2 separate regions of the Homo sapiens genome follow, and region 2 is linked to region 1. The links are contacts of gene promoters, found by promoter capture Hi-C in blood cells and fetal thymus (Javierre and others, 2016). All regions are on one chromosome and are shown on one strand. The core of a region is centred on a gene start or on the middle of the fragment in contact, and the rest is flanking DNA. Distances in the headings are between cores, read along the strand shown. Region 1 holds the start of CC2D1A (coiled-coil and C2 domain containing 1A). Region 2 overlaps ADGRL1-AS1 (ADGRL1 antisense RNA 1).

The links. The method cuts DNA at HindIII sites, captures the fragments that hold promoters and counts their contacts. A CHiCAGO score of 5 or more calls a contact.
Region 2: a fragment that was not itself captured here is called in contact with the fragment with the promoter of CC2D1A in region 1 in 14 of 17 cell types (total CD8 T cells, erythroblasts, monocytes and 11 more); the score reaches 7.1 in total CD8 T cells.

Annotation. Positions count from the first base shown.
Region 1 is chr19:13,904,309-13,907,995 of GRCh38, forward strand. It overlaps CC2D1A (coiled-coil and C2 domain containing 1A), which reads left to right and starts at 1,893. Exons shown (of 29, transcript NM_017721.5): 1 at 1,893-2,193. The coding sequence starts at 2,134. It overlaps BRME1 (break repair meiotic recombinase recruitment factor 1), which reads right to left and starts at 1,809. Exons shown (of 9, transcript NM_001345843.2): 1 at 1,407-1,809; 2 at 554-605. The coding sequence starts at 584. RefSeq lists a silencer at 2,208-2,267. The HindIII fragment of the contact is 3,878 bases long and covers 1-2,613 here.
Region 2 is chr19:14,138,997-14,142,683 of GRCh38, forward strand. All of the region lies in intron 1 of ADGRL1-AS1 (ADGRL1 antisense RNA 1), which reads left to right. Among named protein-coding and RNA genes, the nearest start is that of ADGRL1-AS1, 3.7 kb to the left of the region's middle. The HindIII fragment of the contact is 2,934 bases long and covers 575-3,508 here.

The sequences.
Region 1 (3,687 bases), core at 643-3,142:
GTTGCCCAGGCTGGTCTTGAACTCCTGGACTCAAGCGATCCGCCCACCTCGGCCTCCCAAAGTGCTAGGATTACAGGCGTGAGCCACCACACCGGCCTTCTATTTTTCTTACCAGCATGAATTAAATCCTTTTTGTCTTTTTCTTTTTTTTGAGACAGAGTCTTGCTCTGTTGCCCAGGCTAGAGTGCAGTGGCACCATCTTGGCTCACTGCAACATCGGACTCCCAGGTTCAAACGATTCTCCTGCCTCAGTCTCCCGAGTAGGTGGGACTACAGGCATGTGCCACAACACCTGGCTAATTTTTGTATTTTTAGTAGAGACGGGGTTTCACCATGTTGGTCAGGCTGGTCTTGAACTCCTGACCTTGTGATCTGCCCGCCTCGGCCTCCCAAAGTGCTGAGATTACAGGTGTGAGCCACCGCACCCGGCCAATCCTTGCTTCCTTTTAAGGAGGTTAAGGCAGTCGTGTTAGCCAGATCTGCAATAAACAAGCCCACATTCTTCCCACAAGCAGAAGCAGAAATCAACAAGTGTCCATTTGAATGAACGTACCTGAGGTCCGCAGCTTCTTCCTCTTAGTCATTTTATCTTCCCCTTGAGAAATCTGAAAACAAGCAAAATCTCTCATCATTATAAGCAGTCTCTGTCTCTGTTTATATCCAGTGGCTTTGGCTGAGAGCAGAGGTTACCCCTACCTCCACCTCAGCCCATTTGGCTGCCCCAGGGGTCAGATGGCTCCCACTGGGACACAGGATGGGACACAGAGTCACAGCCACTTTGGGCCATGGCCAGGTAGGAATTCAAACCTCCTCCAAACTGAAGATCTTATGCCCAGGACCTGAAAGACAAATGGGCCCTGGGGGGTCCTTATAGATAGCCCCGGGGACCCAGACTCTGGTCCCTAGGATGAAACAGCCTGTGTGAAGCCCCTCCCTCCAGACTGGGGTATCTGGGGGCCCTTCCAAGGACACTTGAGGACTCTCCAGGGGCCTCTGGAGACCAGCCTGGCCAATATGGTGAAACCCCCTCTCTATTAAAAACACAAAAATTAGCCTGGGCATCGTGACGCACACCTGTAATCCCAGCTACTTGGGAGGCTGAGACAGTAGAATTCCTTGAACCCATGAGGCAGAGGTTGCAGTGAGCCGAGATCGCTCTACTGCACTCCAGCCTGGGCGACAGAGCGAGACTCCGTCTCAAAAAAAAAAAAAAAAATTAGTCAGGTGCGGTGGCACACACCCGTAATCCCAGCTACTCAGGAGGCTGTGGTACAAGGCCAGGAGGCAGAGGTTGCAATGAGCCAAGATCGTGCCACTTTAAAGGGGACAGCTGGGTCCTTGGAGGGGAAAGAGCTGCCATAGGCCGGTTTCTCCCAGCCTTGGGGGCGAGGCAAACCAGAACGGACCTGGGCCACAGAAGTCGTTGAGGACCCTCTGTCCTTATCAGAAACGAGCTCTGCCTGGATCAGTTGGGAATAAGTCGCTTGAATTATCCGCGTTACTCTTTTTGGAAAAAATAAATGGCCAAATTGGCCCTCACAGAACGCTGGAGGCCTCGAGTCCGGAGGTGAAAGATGGAAAGGCCTGAGGGTGGGCGCTGTAGACCCCGCTCCCGGTGACAAGCCCCACACTGACACTACGCCGACCACCGAGAAGTGAGGACTCCACAGGCCGAGAGCCCACGTGAAGCCGGAGCCCGTCGGTGACTGACAGACGCTCTGAACCCCACAGATGTCGCCGCCCCTCACACCTGCGCGCGCTCTGCCTCTTTCCCGCGCCCCGCGAGGTCCCGCCCCGCGCATGAGCGACGCAAACACCGCCCTCGCAGCCCGCGACAGTCAGCACCGCCCCAGCCAGGCGCCTGCGCGCCCACGCACTACCTGCCGGGAGTTGTAGTTTCGGCTCGGCAGACCCGGCGAGCCCAGTGGCCGCGCTCCGGTGCGGCGGCGCCCGAGGCCCGAGGCGGAAGTGGGACGGCCAAGCAGGGAAGCGAGGGCTCGGGATCGACGGCCGCGGGGCGCCGACGAGGAGTGCAGGACTCAGGAAGGGCGAGTGCGCGGCGACAGAGCCCGGGGAAGGAGGCAGGGCAAGGCCGGGCTTGGGGGCAGGTGGTCCGGGCATCCAGCCTTGAAGATGCACAAGAGGAAAGGACCCCCGGGACCCCCGGGCAGAGGCGCCGCGGCCGCCCGCCAGGTGAGTTTGCGCCCCACGGCCCGACCTGGGGATCCCTCCCCACCCCCGTCACTCGCTCAGGGAAGGGCCCCACCCCCCAGGGAAGCCCGATCTCCGCCCCACAGGTAAGCCCCGGTCCCCGCCTCCCCCCAGGTGAGGCTCCAACACCACCCAAGTGTGGCCTACTGGCCTTGGCTCCCCAGCTCCTGGGGCCCTGCCCCGGGTTCGGGGCCACCTGTTGCCACAGCTGCTCCAGTCGAGGAGGGGCAGTCCTCGGACTTGACACATCAAACCCTTGCATCAGTCGGGCCATGTCAGACTCTTTTTATTCCATTGTACAGATGAGGACTTTGAGACTCAGAGACGTGAAGACATCTGCCCAAGGTCATAGGGATTAACAGCTTGGCCAGGGCTAAGCACAAATCCAGGGCTGCAGCCATAAGCTTATGGCACTGTGGCTGGACCCCTTCTCACTCTCCCGACTTCTTTGCCCCAGGCACCAGATAGTTTGATTTTTCTCAGTTTTGATGGAAGGAGCCCAGGACATAGCTTGGTGTTCAGATATTAGAGTCTGGCTGACCTGAAGTTCCCTCCTGGCCTCTGTACATCGGACACTTGACTTTACAGCTCTGAGCCTCAGCTTTCTCATCTGTAAAATGGAGATCTCTATAATCCCAGCACTTCAGGAGATGGAGGCGGAGGCAGAGGTGGGAGAGTCATTTGAGGCCAGAGTTTGAGACCAGCCTGGGCAAAAGCAAGACCCCCGTCTCGACAAAAAAAGACTAACTGGGCATGGTGGCATGTGCCTGTAGTACTACTACTTGGGAGGCTAAGAAGGGAGGATTGCTTGAGCCCAGGAGTTCAAGACCGCAGTGAGCTATGATTGCGCTACTTCTGCTCCAGCCTGGGTGACAGAACAAGACTCTTTCTCTAAAATAAAGATAAAAAATTAAAAATGGAAGTCCGGGGTGGTGTCTCACACCTGTAATCCCAGCACTTTGGGAGGCCATGGCGAAACCCCATCTCTACTAAAAATACAAAAATTAGCTGGGCATGGTGGCGGGCACCTGTAATCCCAGCTACTCGGGAGGCTGAGGTGGGAGAATCGCTTGAACCGAGAGGCGGAGGTTGCAGTGAGCTGAGATCGCGCCACTGCATTCCAGACTGGGTGACAGAGCAAGGCTCCTTCTCAAAATAAATAAATAAATTCCTTCTGAAAATAAATAAATAAATAAAAAATTAAAAATGGAGACCTCCAAGAGACCCTACATTACAGGACAGTTGTAGAGAGTCATTGAGATAGTTTATGGAAAGTGCTAGAACATAGCACTCAATAAATGTTACTATTATCATTATTACTAGTTGGTGGAACCATACATAATTGCCAATATTTGGCCATTTTTTACCTACAGGAAAGGCAATTTCATATGGTTAAACACGATGTTATCACATCATGATTGGTCATTAGCCAAGATAGGAAGACGGGTCTGCATGGCAAACCTGCATTGTGGTTAG
Region 2 (3,687 bases), core at 792-3,291, 230 kb after region 1:
TCTTGGGCTCAAGTGATCCTCCCACCTCAGCCTCCCGAGTGGCTGGGATCACCAGTGCGTGCCACCATGCCTAATTTGTTTTATTTTATTTTATTTTTTTTTTGAGAGGGAGTCTTGCTCTGTCACTCAGGCTGGAATGCAGTGGCGCAATCTCAGCTCACTGCAACCTCCTGCTTCCAGCTTCAAGCGATTCTCCCACCTCAGCCTCCCGAGTAGCTGGGACTACAGGCACACGCTACCTTACCCAGCTAATTTTTGTATTTTTAGTAAAGATGGGGTTTCACTATGTTGGCCAGGCTGGTCTCAAACTCCTGACCTCAGGTGATCCACTCACCTCGGCCGCCCAAAGTGCTGAGATTACAGGCATGAGCCACCGTGCCCTGCCTCTTATACTTTTTAAATTTTTTGTAGAGACAGGGTCTCGCTGTTGCCCAGGCTGGTCTTGAAACTCCTGGCCTCAAGCAGTCCACCTATCTTGTCCTTAAGTGCTGGGATTACAGCGCCTAGCCCATTTTTGGTATCTACATCTCACATTAAGTTAAGAAAAATTCTTTTTAGCTGTTAAAAAATCGAAAGCTTTGTTTTTATTCTTTTGAAATTATTTGGCTTCAAGGAAACTCACATTTATGATTCGCTTGATTTCTTGGCAATCATTGCATACTTAGGGATATTTGTGATTTGAGAAAATCTAATTTCCAAATGTAATTCGATTGCTTATGAATACTAAATTTAATGATTAATGCAGTTGTCATGATGTCACATTTCTAGATGCTTAATTAAACATTTATTCATTCCAACTTTGTAGTTTTCTCTTTGCATTGTGGAACTTTTTTCCCTTTATCCCTGTCCCTGACCTTTTCGTAGCCCCTGAGAAGCTCATGATCCACCAGCATTATTTCCGTGGCGCTAATGAAGAATGTGGCCCTGTCTATGATGCATTCTCCTTACAGCTGGCTGAATGATCTTCACTTGTAAACCAGATCATGTCATTACTCTGCTTAAAACCTTCAGAGGCTTATCCTACTTAGAATGAAACCTAAGATCTTTCCTATGGCTTAGGCGGCCCTGCGTGGTGGCCTCAGCTGACCTCTCAGGCCTCATCTACCATTCTTCCTCTTGTCACCGCTCTCAAGCCCAGCTGGCTTTATTTCCCTTCTTTCAACACACCCAGCTTATTTCTGCCGCAGGGCTTTGCACTTGCCGTTCCCTCTGCCTGGAATGTGCTTCCTCCAGATAATTGCATGGCTGTCTCTTTCTCTTCGCTTGTGGTTCAGCTCAAATGTCCTCTGAAAGAAGACTTCCCAGAGTACCCTATTTAAAGTAGCACTTTCTTGGCCGGGCGCGGTGGCTCATGCCTGTAATCCCAGCACTTTGGGAGGCCAAGGCAGGCGGATCACGAGGTCAGGAGATCGAGACCATCCTGGCTAACATGGTGAAACCGCATCTCTACTAAAAATACAAAAAATTAGCCGGGCGTGGTGGCGGGCGCCTGTAGTCCCAGCTACTTGGGAGGCTGAGGCAGGTGAATCGCTTGAATCTGAGAGGTGAGGGTTGCAGTGAGCTGAGATCGTGCCTCTGCAATCCAGCCTGGGTGACAGAGCAAGACTCCGTGTCAAAAAAAATAAATAAATAAATAAAGTAGCTTTTTCTTAATCACATCACTCAGTTTTATGATCTTAGTAACGCATATCAGAATTTGTACTTATTTTCGGGTGGGCATGGTGGCTCACACCTATAATCCCAGCACTTTAGGAGGCCAAGGCGGGCCGGTCACTTGAGGTCAGGAGTTCGAGACCAGCCTGGCCAACATGGCAAGACCCCGTTTCTACTAAAAAAAAAAAATACAAAATAAATAAATAAATAAATAAATAAATTAGCTGGGCGTGGTGGCACGTGCCTGTAGTCCCAGCTGCTCAGGAGGCAGAAGAATTGCTTGAACCGGGGAGGCAGAGGCTGCAATGAGCCGAGATCACGCCACTGCACTCAAGCCTGGGCAACTGAGAGAGATTCCATCTTAAAAAGAAAAAAAGAATTTCTACTTATTTTGGTTTTAAATTGTGCTTATTATCTCATCATCCCTCAGTAGATTGAAAGCTGGTTGTGAGAAGAGATCTCGCCTAGCTCACACCTCTCAATGTTGTACTTCCAGAGCTTAGCAGAGGACGTGGCTCATAGAAAGTCCTCAATCAATTTTTCAAAAAGAATAAATCTGGCTGGGCGCAGTGAGTCACACACTCTGGGAGGCCGAGGTGGGCGGATTACCAGGTCAGGAGATCGAGACCATCATGGCAAACATGATTAAAACCTGTCTCTACTAAAATACAAAAAATTAGCCAGCCGTGGTGGTGCGTACCTGTAGTCCTAGCTACTTGGGAGGCTGAGGCAGGGGAATTGCTTGAACCTGGGAGGTGGAGGTTGCAGTGAGCCTAGATTGCACCACTGCACTCCAGTCTGGTGACAGAGGAAGACTCCGTCTCAAAAAAAAAAAGAATAAATCTATGTAAAGGGTGGGTTTAGCATAGTACCTGGAATGTGAAAAGTACTCAATAAACATGAACCAGCCAGGTGCAGTGGCTCACGCCTGTAATCCCAGCACTTTGGGAGGCTGAGGCGGGTAGATTGCTTGACCTCAGGAGTTCGAGACCAGCCTGGGCAAAACCCTGTCTCTACAAAACATAAAAAAATTAGCCGGGTGTGGTGGCATGTGCCTGTGGTCCCAGCTACTCAGGAGGCTGAGGTGAGAGGATTGCTTGAGCCCTGGGGGCAGAGGTTGCAGTGAACCAAGATCTCACCACTGCACTCCAGCTTAGCTAGGCAACAGAGTGAGACCCTGTCTAAAAACAAACAAAAGACTGAACTGTTAGTAGCATATAGTAATAAGCAGATACGTCTTCATTCTTGTTTAATACTTCAGGTGCACACATGCTCGAGAAAGTATAAGAAGTGCTATAGCAAAATACTGTTACCCAGCTTAACAGCTAAAACATTAGAGATGCAACTGAAGGGCCCTATACCCCTACATCAAACCCATTCCTCTTCCTTTTTCCTCACATGTAACCACAACCCTGAATTTGGTGTTTACAGTCTTCTGTGCATATCGGCGTGTATCTTTAAACAATATATAGTATTGTTTGTCATGTTCTATACTTTTATATAAATGGTGTCTGCGCAATTTAGAGTTAACCTAGCAGGCCTGAGACTGCTATCCTTAGAAAGACCTGTTTGCAAGATTGGCCCTTGGCTGATATCTAGGAACTTGGATTTCAGGAGGGTTCCTGCCGTTCCCCAAATGATGAGTGCCTAAACTGTTTCCACCAACAATGTGGTTCATGTTGAACACCTGCTCTCCTTCTGGAGTCTGGCATTTTGGTACACGACCACCCCCAAGTACAACTCTGGTCACTGAGTAATGAGCTTCCCTGGTAGACCGCCTATCCGTCGTGCTGTCATACTTGGCGGTAGGAATTGATGGAGTCCTGTGTGACTCCACTAGGAGAGGACTCTTAGAAGCTTGTCCTGGTTTCCTCTGGACTTCAGCTCCTGCATCTTTTCCCTTTGCTGATTGTGCCTTGTGTCTCTTCACTATCATAAATCACAGCCATGCCTACGCTTCCAAGCAAAATCCTGTGACTCCTCTTAGTGAGTCATTGAACCTCAGGGTGGTCTTGGGGACCTCTGATAGCAGGA